Regions from separate parts of the Homo sapiens genome. Here all the other regions are linked to region 3. The links are contacts of gene promoters, found by promoter capture Hi-C in human tissues and cell types (Jung and others, 2019). All regions are on one chromosome and are shown on one strand. Each heading gives the region's core, a stretch centred on a gene start or on the middle of the fragment in contact. The rest is flanking DNA. Distances are from core to core; before and after follow the strand shown.

Region 1 (4,271 bases), core at 211-2,710, 190 kb before region 3:
ATATGGGCAACTGAGACTCAAAATGTTAATCCGTTGTCAAATATCTACTAAGAGGCAGAGCTAAAATTTGAATCTAAGACTCTAGGAGCCAGTGTGCTGTGTTAAGTAATGTTTTCATTTGAACTTTCCATATTTATGGAAATAAACTAAACTAGGCCACAAAGTAGTTAAATGACTTGCCCAAGGTCACAGAGTCACCAGCAGTACTACATCATGAATCAAAATATTTTGATTCCCTCAATCTTATGCTAATTTTCTGCTGCCCAGGAAAGGATAATTGCTGACTGGTCTCTCCAGTAAAGCTTGAGAGTTTTGCCTTTGCCCACTTTTTCAGTAAAGAACGCCTCGACTAAACTAAGCAGGTACATTTCATTTTCTCCTACTGCTTTAATCATCCATAGTTATTCAGCAAAGGGTCCCAAGGCTAGAGGGAGAAATTAAGCCTAAAACCAAATTAAAATAATTTGGGGTTTAATTTGATTCAAATGTCAGAAAAATTCCACCCAGTAACCCTGTTAATATACAACTGAACTAAATGTCCTATATACCCAATTGTATTCAATTTTGCTGGGACCACCGATGCCTTAAACATGTTAATCTCATTCTCATTCTATCCTACTTTATGCACTTGTCTCTCAAAGAGTGCCACATAGCTGAACTTATTTGCTTTTCAAGAACTGCACGCCATTTTAATTACATAAAATGTCAACCAAGGCAGTCCTGAGTCCTGGCGGACACACTTACATACTTAAGAAAGCAGACCTGCCATTGGCCGTGGTGATCAGGGTCCGGAGGCTAGGGGCTGAGAAAGGCCTGGTGAACCAGGAATATACCAGATTTTTCCCACAGGTATCAGGGCTGAGGGGAAAAAAAAAAGGAAAAGAAAAAATCCCTGATTGAATTGAAACCCAGGTGAACCATGTAAGCTTGGAAATAGCTCTTTTACAAACTCAAAGGGGAAGAAAGGGAAACTGACACAGCTTGTTTTGCCGCTGTGCCTGTTGTCCACTCCCTTTCTTTGTCCATGCAGGCTGCGCTGCAGGTGGGGGCTGGGAGGGAGCAGGTAAAAGGGCCCGTTCAAGAGTGCCTAGTCCTCCCGGTTTGAGACTCTGCACAAAGGAGGGACAATAAATACAGGCTTCAAAGGAGAAAAAAAAAAAGTATGTAGCACGATCCACCTCCTCCAAGGAACCTTTGATAGACAGTTCTTACCTGCTGCTTTCTGTTCAGCTTCTACCTCCCAAAACCACAATTCATCTAAGAAATATCTTTTTAAAATTGTTTTTTCTTAAGGCCTATTAAAATAGGCATAACTGTTAACTAGATGAAATGCAGGATCATGTCTAACCTAGGCTAGGAGAAGTGGCCACTGAATATTATTTGAAAAGCTGTCTTAAGTCTATGAGAAGCCCCTGCATAAAAGAAGATGAACTTCAGTGGAATTCCCCAACTCTTCAGCCATTCATTGCTTATCGGACACGTATCATCAGAAAAGGTGAAGATTCTATTTCATATAGTCTAGGAGACAGAAAGGAAATGGCAAGTACAATGGGACTTGGCTGCTACCAATGGTCTGAAATAGAAAAAGTACTATTCAAATTCTAGGACTATACCTGCCAGAAACATCTGCATTATTTCAGGTGACTTAACCCCCAGCGCCTCTCCCTGTGCAATGTTATAGCTTATTAGCACTTCTGCAAAAGGGCAAGCCGTACCAGAGAACTGAAACACAAAGATTTGCCAATTCAGCTAGAAAAAGATCTCATGGGCGGAAGAAAAAAAGCAAGGAATTTAAGTGTTCAGAAAATATGCAAATTATCTAAGGATTTCATACATCCTATTATGGTCGTTTAAGCCTGTAACTAAGATTCCAATCCATGTAACAAACTCAGAGACAATTGTGAAGATACAATTTAGGCCAGTGGGAGCCATCTTTCATGGAACCTACATTTTTAAGAATAAAGATCCCAACTTCTTCATCTCACTGATTAGGCTGATCAATCCCCAATCCATAAATACATCACATTCCAAAAATTCATCCTTAAGCTAGTTATTTAGAAATCCAAAAGCATTCTCCCATTGATCCAATGTAATAAATGGGGATTGCAACCCCAGACCAGCCTGCAAATACCAACTTATCTCAAATACACCAGGAAGATTCTTCATAGCAGCCCCACGCCTCTCTGGGGCATAAGCCAATGGAGCCCTCGTGAACCTTAAGACCTTTTGGGACTGATATCCTGTCATCTCAGAGGCAAGGGAAGAGGAAGGAAGGATAAAATATCAGGTTCCATCTGAATAGCTTATGTGGCAGGTAGAGGGAGGCTCAAGTGGGAGAGGTCTAAATATATAATTTTTCTCCCAAAGTCAGGTAGATATTAGAAGAGAGATTATGTGTGATGAAGCTTTCCACTTTGTTCCAAAGAAAAGATGTTGAATTGCGGGGACAGAACTGGACTCTCAGAACATTAGAAGGGCCACTATAGGGAACACATATAGTATTCAACAGAATGGACTAAGTTTCCAGCAAATATAACCATTAAAATAACACATTTCTCTCATTTCTACTGATTATAACCATTACTGATACTGTCAATCAGAGAAAAATTATAAAAATCTAGGCATAAAGACCTTATTAATATATTCAACTCTTACCAAGCATTTGCTAGAACCATAGAATGCTTGCTCACAAGAGAGCCTTGGAAGTCAGCCACCCAACCTCGTTTTAAAAATGAGGTTACCAAGGGAAGGAAAAATTAAGTGGTTTCCTGTTACTTAGACACAGAAATCACCTGGTGCCCACTGGGAAAACAATTTCACGTGCCTCTTATATAAACTTTGGTTTCCCTTCTTTCCTTTTCGAGGAACCCTTAATTTCTGTGTATTGATGTTTCATGTGACAGTTAAACCTGCTTGCAGCCAAAATGATTGTTTTGCTGAGGGAAGGTGTTAAGTTTCAGCCCAAGCATCTCCCTTTGAACTCTGGGGACTTTGCTAGAACTATCTTTGCTGCTAGGAGAGACCACTTCCCTTTTTCTCCAAGGAAGACCTGCCTTGGCCTGAGCATCATTACCTTCCCTCTGCACTGGCTGACTGCAAGCAAGTGGAACATGAAACTGGCAATGGAGATACAAAGCTCCGGCAAATGTCGAACTCACTTAATTTGCTGACCATCCGATTAATGGCTGGTCACCACATTTCAAGTCAGCTCTAGCTAAACCTCTGGAGCTTCTTGCCAAAGGCTTCTTAAAGAGTCCTGGTTGTTGTTTTTTTTCCTATACACACTTAAAAACCTCATTAAACAAGAGAGAATGTTTTTAAAACAGTCAAATCATGTTTTATCCATAGACTTGCATGTCAGAGGTTATAAACTCTTATATTCAACAACAGCCTCTGTAGGATCCATGCCAGAGTATCAGAATAAAATGAAAAACCACTGGCAACGGTGCAATAATGGTATCCCATTAACAACTGAGATCTTAAGAGGCAATAACTGCAAAAGCATGTTACCATTAAACTAAGTGCATGTGCCTTCCACATTCCAGCAAAAAGGTTTCAGAAGATGGCTGCAGCTTAAAGGACTTGGATGAGGGAAAAGGATGTTTCTAGTTTAGGATGCCCCACTCCCCTGCATCCCCTGGGCAAGTTTTCCTTAAATCACAAGAGACCCTAAAAGGAAGACTATTTTGATGGCAAATACCCTAGTGTAAGAACTGTCAGTCCAAGATCAGTTTTTTTTTAGTCGCTCTGAATATTTGGAGAAATTATCTAAGCACTACTAGCCTTAGTTTTTTCAGCTATAAACTGGTGATAATAATTATGCTCATGTAAGAATTGTTGGAAGGATTAAGCGATTCAGGGCTATGCATCAGAGTTGGGTAAAGTGAGGAGTATAAGTAAGTGCTCAATATATGTTACTTGCTATTTTTTTAAGAAAACCTAATTAAATAGAATGTCTTGCAGAGTCCCCCATAACCACTGATATCAATTGAAATTAACTTGCTGTTACTATCACCCAGAAGTAAAATTGGGAGACACTGTGAGTGGCAGAAGCAATCTTTTGCTCCTCTAGCGTCTTTACTAAAATGTGCAAGGGCCCCAGAACATGCATGACCATAGAGGTGAGGTGAATTGGAAGTAGATTTTTACGTTACTTAGCTTGGCATGAGTTGAAAGCATCCTTACTCTTCCTACATAGCCCCTGATACTTGAGGTATGAGCTGAGAAATCCTCCTCCTTTGAGACAACTGCTCACTTTCTCAGTTCTGATC
Region 2 (4,337 bases), core at 1,515-4,014, 240 kb before region 3:
GCTGAACCTAGGAGGCGGAGGTTGTGGTGAGCTGAGATTGCACCATTGCACTCCAGCCTGGGCAACAAGAGTGAAACTCCGTCTCAAAAAAAAAAAAAAAAAAAAAAAAAAAAGAAGAAAAGGAAAAAAAAAGCTAACTTCTGATGATCCTAACCAACCTATTTTACTGGGATTACTTTATTCAACATTACTGCCTCTACCACATAGCTTCCCTGCCACTGCTCTCTACTGTTCACCAAATGTTTGGGGTAATGCTGGTCTCTCCTGGCCAGAGAGATGGTGAATACCTGGGCTGTTCCGCACACTTCTGAGCACTCAGTAGGTACTCCCCGGTGTAATACTTGTGGCTGATGAGAAAGATTCTGAAAAAAAATAGCTGATTGCATGGAGAATGGTTCTAAACACACAAGTGTCCAACTTGGCTAAGGTGGTTAATTTTGGAACTGGGCTGAATTTGGAACTGGGCTGGGGAAGGAAGCGCATCCCTAAGGATTGAGCCACTAGAGGCCGCTCTGAGCCAGATTCTCACTAAATCATGCTATGAAGAGGAATCACATCAAAGGGAAAAGGAACGCTGCTGAGTAGCACCGGGCGTCATGGCAACACCATGGTTCCTATTTTTAAACTTAGTGAGTGAGCCCACAAAGTGTGGGTGTATGCACGTGGGGGAAGGGGACTCTGGTCTATTCCTAAAGAATATTCTTTCATGAAGTTTTGAGTTTGCAGGTGGCCAATAAACTGAGACAATGAGATTAGAGAATCAAACTAGAATCAGCTATATTGGAATGGTTCCTTTCTCCTGAACTCCACTCTCTTAGTCTCTATCAGAAAGGATCCTCCATGGCCTTGGATCAGAGGTACCAGGAAATTCGTGATGGTTTTCACTAACATTCTGAAATTCTTCGTTCCTGAAGCTCATTCTGCTAGTCTTTTAGGCAATTCACTTTATATTTCAAGAAAAATAAGTCTAAACAGCAAACTAAAAGCATCTGTGGACACTCCACTCCTTGTGAAGACAATCAGATGAATGCTATGTATTGTCCGTATTCCCGGCATCCGGCACAGGGTTCAGTACATACAGAATAGGGGGTCCACATTCCTACTGGATGTGTCACTCAGTGAATTAAGAATGAATGTAATTTTGTGAAGTGCAGAAAAGTGGGCCCCACATGTCCCGTTTCTTTCATTTCTAATAGCATTTTCTTTTTTTTTTTTTTTAACTTTTCTCCAATCTCCAGCTGAATACAAGGCTTAAACAAATCCAAATTTATCTGACCTGTCAAAAATGAATAGTGGTACTGGAGGACATTTGTAAATCATGGCAGAGGCCAAGGTCTTGTTTTGTTCTATTGCATGTCCCTGACAGTATTTTCAATGCATCTGTAATCTCCCTGAACCTTGGCAGGTTGTAGACCAGAAAGTCTCCACCCGCTTCAGTTCCAAGGATTTTTCAGGTATGCAAAGACTACAAGTTGTTGTTTTTTCCTCTATGGGTTAAAGGATTTGGGAATAGGATAAGAAAAAATAATCCTCCTTCCCATTAGGAAAAGGGAGGTATCAGCAAGATCAGAGCAAGACCAGCAAGTAGAGATGGGCACACTTCAGGACAGAGAGTGAGATGAGCAGGTTCAGTGTGGGAAGTCTTTACCATGTGTGTCCTGGATGCCACTCCCAGGCTGATTCTAGATGTGTCATGGTCTAGTCTTTAGGGCAAGAAATAGCAGAGAATCCAAGAAAGTAAACTATTTATTTATTTTATTTTATTTTATTGCGATGGAGTCTCACTCTGTGAGTGCAGTGGTGTGATCTCAGCTCACTGCAACCTCCACCTCCCGGGTTCAAGCAATTCTCTGCCTCAGCCTCCCAAGTAGCTGGGATTACAGGCATCCGCCACCACGCCCGGCTAATTTTTTTGTATTTTTAGTAGAGACAGGGTTTCACTATCTTGCCCAGGCTGTTCTTGAACTCCTGACCTCATGATCCACCCACCTTGGCCTTCCAAAGTGCTGGGATTACAGGCGTGAGCCACCGCGCCCAGACAGGAAACTCTTTATTACCAAACCACCCTGTCCCACAGGTTAATGATATGTTTATATACATGTGAGTCATTCCTAATTCACTCAACCTCTTTAGCAAAGGACATAGAAAGATGGATAACCTGGGGCAAAGTACGCCTGGAATTCATAAAAATTTGAGTTTGAAACACAAAGTAAGCAAAAGTCTTAATCTTTCTGGATCTCAGGGGGTTTGGGGTTTTTTGTTGTTGCTTTCGTTTTATTTTTTTGAGACAGGGTCTTGCTCTTTCACCCAGGCTGGAGTGCAGTGGCATGATCATGGCTCACTGCAGCCTCTATCTTCCTGGGCCCAAGTGATTCTCACCTAAGCTTCCCAGGTTGCTGGGACTACAGGTGCATGCCACCATGCCTGGCTAATTTAATATTTCTGTATTTTATAAAGACGGGGTTTTTGCCATGTTGCCCAAGCTGGTCTCAAGTGATCTACCTGCCTCAGCCTCCCAAAGTGCTGAAATTACAGGTGTGAGCCACCTCACTCAGGCAATCTCAGTTTATCTAAAAATTGGAGGCAATCATATCCCTGTACAATACTTTTAAGCTTAAATTATGCTATATAAAGCCCTTGGCACATAGTATTCACTCAATAATCTTTTTTAAAAATAAATTTTCTAAATTGCTGAAGCTTAGTATTTTAAAGTACAGGCTTTTTCTTGATTATAGGAAGCATTTTAATGGAAAATTTCAGAAAGGCATTACAGAGTTCTCTGACTTTTTATACCTAAGATAATCGATATAATTTAAGCTCTTATTGATGACTTAACAATGACTATGCTTTTTTGCTATACAGGGATTTTTATGCAGGGTATATGCTTTCTGGGGCGTAGATGACATTTCTCCCCAAATGGTGTTATACAACTCTGCTTTTCAAGGTTTTCTGCTGGGTTTTTCTAATATCTTCCACTCTTTTCCATTCTGTTATTTATTAATGCTGTTGGTTTGCCTATCTGATCCTCATCATCATGTCTGTTATACCTAAGCTATTGTTATCTAGGAAATCATATAAACAAATATCTCAAAGTTGTCTACCAAAGATATGGCCTTGGCCCTCTCTCACTAGTTAACAGAACTTTGTTTTTTTGTTTTTGAGACAGAGTCTCGCCCTGTTGCCGAGGCTGGAGTACAGTGGCATGATCTCGGCTCACTGAAACCTCCACCTCCCAGGTTCAAGTGATTCTCTTACCCCAGCCTCTCAAGTAGCTAGGATTACAGATGTACACCACCACACCTGGTTAATTTTTGTATTTTTAGTAGAGATGGAGTTTCACCATGTTGGCCAGGCTGGTCTCAACCCCCTGACCTCCGGTAATCTGCCTGCCTCGGCCTCCCAAAGTGCTGGGATTATAGGCATGAGCCACTGTGCCCGGCTTAGAACTTTGATTTTTAACTGGGCACATTACTGCCCAGGTTAAAAACTAAACTAAGCTATATTTCCCAATTTTGCTTGTTGCTAGTGTGGCCATTGACTGATTTCCAACCAGCAGACTATAAGCAAAGTGTGGAACTTCAGGGGAATTTCCTAAACAGGGAAATGATTTACCTTCCTTCCTTTCTAACTTCAATCTGCTGCTTGAAACTGGAGTTCCAGCAGCCATCTTAGGCATGGGGATGAAGGATATACCCAGTGGATGAAAGAGTGGAAAGCTAGCAGGCATCTGAGTCCTGATGACATGCAGCTGTCATCCCAGCTCTGGACAGACCACCTAACTATGCTCACATATCTCATTTAAACTGGGTTACTGGGACTCCACACCATAGATAACCCAACTGCCCACAAGCTTCTTAGAAGTATGTGTAAAATTAGAGTAAACGTGCTTTGAGCGACACTCTGTATGACAAGAAACAGCAGTCATTTTAGGGCAAGAGTTTTGTGTCAGGGATTTTAGCTCAGAGCCCTTTTCTGCTTTCTTCATGACTGTTGGTTATGTTCTAGATACATCAGGTTGTTGAATATGTGACCTCTTGTCCTTTAGGTAAAAAAGCCAAGTCTCCATGTGAACACATGTGAGCACGTGTGACAGAAGTGAGGACAATGACCCCGTGCAGCCTGTGGAGTCCACTATTTTGAGTCATAGTCTCTAATATGCACACACATACACACACACACCTTGTCCTCTATAGTCAATAATGAGGGAAATTTGACACATTATTAAGATCTGTGTAATAGTGAACTGTAATATAATAATGCTCTATTGTGCTGTTTTGCCTAAACAAAAGTGCCTGAAAGATTTTTTTTCAAGCAGGGGAGGAAGAAAGTCAATGGGA
Region 3 (4,334 bases), core at 238-2,737:
TCAAAAAAAAAAAGATTTAATTCAAAGGTAATTCAGGGTATGGAGAGCAGCTCACAATGCAGAATCCAGAGTAATTATTCCGTGTGCATGTGAGGTTAGTGGCTGGAATAGATTTTTAACGCTTCTTCTGGCAATTACGGTTTTTGGTTTTTGGAGCGTTAGTGGAGGAGGCTCTGTGTGGAGAAGCTGGGGGCCGGCTCCGTCCCTCGGTGGAGCATGGTCATTCCCAAAGCGTCCCCTTCCTAAGGGGGAAAAAGAGGCGGTCAGGGCTTGATTCGCGTGTCCCCCGGAGGGTGAGAAAAATGCATTCCGAAAAAGATATCAATTCGTTTTAAGGAAAGGGGGGAGGAAACCCCGCATTTCCCACAGAGTGCACACGAGAGGAATTGAAAACAGCTGGTACCGGTCTATAAATAATTCAGAAAAGGTCTGGCTATACCATTCCTGGGACAGGCACGGATGAGAGGTGGGAAAGCCAACCTGAATGGAAGAGGAGAGAGGGAGGGAGCGAGCGAAGGAGGGAAGTGGGAAGGAAGGAGGAAGGGGGGGAGAAGCGGCACCATACAGCAACACACACTCACACACACGCAGAAACACAATTCCCACTTAACTCGCCAGCGAGTGCGGCCCCCAGCCCCATCTGCATTGCTGCTGACTTGTCTCGCTCGCTCTCCCCATCGCCTCCAGCAGCAGCGCCGCCTCCCACCCCGGGCTTGTGCTGAATGGGTTCTGATTGTGCACGGGGTGCACACTGGGCATTTCTTGGAAGGGGCACACTGACGCGCGCACACACGCCCCCGACGCGCACGCGCCCCGCGCGCACTCACACTCACCCCCGCGCACACTCACCCCCGCGCACACTCACGCTGCCGCCGCGCTGAGGTGCAGCGCACGGGGCTTCACCTGCAACGTGTCGATTGGACGGATGGGCTCGGCGCGTGGGTCCGGCCCGGGGCGCCGCTGCCCTGCCCCTCTGCTAGGTGAAGGGATGAAACCCCCCAAAAGACCAGAGACAGCCCTACCCAGTCACAGCACCCCCTCCCCCACAAAAAAAAAAAACCTTTAAAAAAGCCACGTCCAAATTAGCAAGTGCCGGGTTCTGCTGGATTTCAGAGCTTTACCTCATGCCAGATTCGTTCACGATTTCACGGCTTCGACCCTTTATCTGCCTGACACCCCCAAACCCCTACATTCAAAGGAGAGACTCCAAAGCCCATCTTTACGTACCGGCTCCGAGCGCCTCCGCGGTTGCAGTCTGCGGAGAGGGGTGGCCGGTGGCTGGGAATGGAGGGTTTTCCTTTCCTGCAAAGCAGGATTAATGATCCGTCTCGGGGGTTTTGAAGTTCATGACTCTTCTTTGCAAGGCAAAAGGATATGCATTCGGACGCCAGCACTACTGGATGGTGGTGATCAAGAATCACCCTTGACGAGCACTCTCGATAGAGCGAAGCCCCGAGATTTCCTAGAGGTGAAGAAGCCGGAGGAAGTGGTTTTTGAAAGGGGGTGGGGGGAACCTTCCTTTCTCAAAAAGAGGTGGGGGGTGGAGAGGCAGGAGCCCAGATTCCAGTTGGTGAGGATCGGAGCCGGGGGAAGGGAAGCGGGCGGGGGCAGGCTGTGCAAGTCAACCGCGCGGCAGCCGGAGAGGGAGAGCAGGAGGGGAGGAGGGGAGCGTCAGAAAAATGGGTATTAATCACCGGGGACGGGGGGAGGCGCGGGGAACGCAGGTTGCCTGGTCTGGATTTGGGTCTCACACTCAAAAACGTGCCGCGCACACACACACAGACACACACACACCCCCTACCTCGCACACCCTGACTCCGGGGGGAGGAGAAACCCACGAAGCTGGGGAAGATACTGCTTCTGCTCCCAGGGGCGGGTGTGAGCGCGCGTGTCCTCTTTCTCCACACCCCCCACCCCACCCCACCCCCAAGCCCCTGCACCCCCTCACTCCTCTTGCTAAGACTCTGGCGGAGGCAGCTTCCCACGTCATGTGCTGGGGAAGTGGGGTGGTAAGGTGGATGGAAGGGGGACGGAAGGGGGAAGAAGCTTAGCCCGAGTCCGTGGCGCCTCCTCCCGGCCGCAGCGGGGAACAGCACCGACGGAGAGCGGCTGAGGGGCGAGGGGAGCTAGACAGTGCCCCCCGTGGGCGGCCCGCGGGCTGCGGAAAGCATCTCCAAGGCGGAGCTGTAGTTCGAAATTGAAGACCCTTGCTGTATTTTCCATAAATCAGCCTGTGCTTCCTACGAGCATTCTGTGTGTCGGACGCAGTCTGGGACCGGGTTCTTTCTTGCCTTCAAGGAGCTTAAGATCTATCTGAGCACACGAGGCTGACGCCTAACACAATAGAAAACAAAGCAAAGCAGGTGTCATTCGTGGCTAAATTGTATAGTATGGACCATACGCGTGCTTTTCTGGCTGCTAGTGAAGGCGGGAGGAGTTTGACATTTTTTATTAAAGTGGATCCTGTTATTTAAATGCCTTGAGAAGAGAAGATGGTGAGGCCCGTGAATAATCCCTAAAGGAAACTGGATTTCCTGGCATTTACAAACCCACCCTCTTTGAAAAGGCAAACATCCATTCATTTCTCTTCCTATTGAACTCTTTTATATTTTAATAGCCCTTATCACCACCTGTAGTATTGTTTACTTTTAACATTAATATTATTGTATATGCATCATTTTCATTCTCATCCATTGTCTTTTCAAATATCTAGAATACTACAGTGGTGGAACATTTTCATATTGGTTATATCATGGGCTTCTCACCAGCATTCCTGAGAAGCGGCCATACAAACGCACAGGAGAGAAGGCTGTGTGAGTGGATATACCTAGTGGCTTGGAACTTTAGTCTGTAGAAGCCATCAGATATGTTTTTGCTGTCCTGTAGACCAGACTACTCATACTTCTGAGCTACAGTAATTCTTCTGTTTCCTGGTTTTTCTCAGGCTTAATTTTTGAATCTAACATATTTAACACACACGAACACATAAGCATTGTGTGAAAACACAAATAGAGTGTGTTCACATGCAAATTATTCCTTCTCAGTAATGGTTTTCTATTTTTCTAAGAGTTAGAACTGATCTTTCACTACTTTGGGGAAGTGTCGAAGCACCCCAGAGTTGCTGTGCCCTCTTGATACACAACAGCCAACCCAAGCCCCTCTAATAATTTGTCTCCAGGGTTTTCAAGTTCACCTGCCTATGGGCAGGTTTGCAGTTGTTAGAACGCCGATTCCAAGAGGAGTATAGAATGCAGAAAGCAAGAACCTAATAGAGATTTCCTGAAACACTCTTCCCTGAATTTTCCAGGAAAATTACCGTTACCTGGTCCATTAGCTTCAGAATAACATCCAAGCTCACTCAAGGATCTTCATGGGTTGACCTTGAATCTACTTTTTAAATTTTTATATTTTTTATTTCTGGCTCATAGCCCACGTTCCCCTTCCTATCCTCAGTCCCTTCACCAAAATTATACTATTCTTCCCTATTTTCTTTCCTTTTCCTCCCTACCTGAACCCTGTTGCAATTCCATTCCACCCTGTTCACTTTTCCAAGTGTACAGGGAAGAATGAACGCTCATACTTCCTCCACCTAATTGAGTCCACACTCCTCTTCAGTTTCCAGCTCAAGTCCCACCTCCTCTGGGGATATTTTTCAGTCAACCAAGCCTGAATTGATTTCTGTAAAAATTGCAAGAATTTTGAAATGAGAGATGACACCTCACCACCATCCCCTCCACTCTCATTTTCTGTATTCAGCAATGTATGGAAGAGTTTGCTTGATCAGTTATCAAACTGACTGGGTGATAACTTATTGCATTCATTAACCAGGTACTGGCCCACTATAGGGAAAAATATTACCTCTGTAGCTATTCATGTTGAACCATGTGAGACTATTGATATTCAATCATACGAAATTGCCAATCATATGAAATAACCATTATTGACATATAATAAAAAGGCAATTTCATAAAGTTAAACTTAAAATTATATTCTGGTGTCAATTTCCTGTCTTCCAAACTAGTTGTTTAGCTCCCTAAGGGGACAGACCATAACCTAAGTCATCCATATATTCCCAGTACCTGGCTCAATTCCAGACATGCAGTAGAGGTTCAATAGATATTTTTTATGACTATTTGAAGCCACTTTATCAAGCAGTTTTTCTGGTTCTGAAATAGCTAATTCTAGGGACCACACAGATTGTGAAGTGGAAAGTAATATCCCTTGCCCATGGCATTCATTGCCCATTGACTACTCAATGGAACTAAGATTCGTCTCCTTTTTTTCTGGCTCCTTGTCACTCACTTGCTCTTCTCACTAATAACCTTTGCCTTCAT

What was found. The method cuts DNA at HindIII sites, captures the fragments that hold promoters and counts their contacts. A contact is called where the count stands out against the background at its distance.
Region 1: a contact is called between a fragment that was not itself captured here and the fragment with the promoter of GRIN2B in region 3, in 2 of the 25 tissues and cell types used here (dorsolateral prefrontal cortex and mesendoderm cells).
Region 2: a fragment that was not itself captured here is called in contact with the fragment with the promoter of GRIN2B in region 3 in 2 of the 25 tissues and cell types used here (H1 embryonic stem cells and dorsolateral prefrontal cortex).

The regions. Positions count from the first base shown.
Region 1 is chr12:13,785,810-13,790,080 of GRCh38, forward strand. The region is part of intron 3 of GRIN2B (glutamate ionotropic receptor NMDA type subunit 2B); the gene reads right to left. Among named protein-coding and RNA genes, the nearest start is that of GRIN2B, 190 kb to the right of the region's middle. The HindIII fragment of the contact is 4,112 bases long and covers 1-3,516 here.
Region 2 is chr12:13,739,290-13,743,626 of GRCh38, forward strand. The region is part of intron 4 of GRIN2B (glutamate ionotropic receptor NMDA type subunit 2B); the gene reads right to left. Among named protein-coding and RNA genes, the nearest start is that of GRIN2B, 240 kb to the right of the region's middle. The HindIII fragment of the contact is 3,526 bases long and covers 1,002-4,337 here.
Region 3 is chr12:13,980,115-13,984,448 of GRCh38, forward strand. It overlaps GRIN2B (glutamate ionotropic receptor NMDA type subunit 2B), which reads right to left and starts at 1,488. Exons shown (of 14, transcript NM_000834.5): 1 at 1,228-1,488; 2 at 1-242. The HindIII fragment of the contact is 12,156 bases long and covers 1-4,334 here.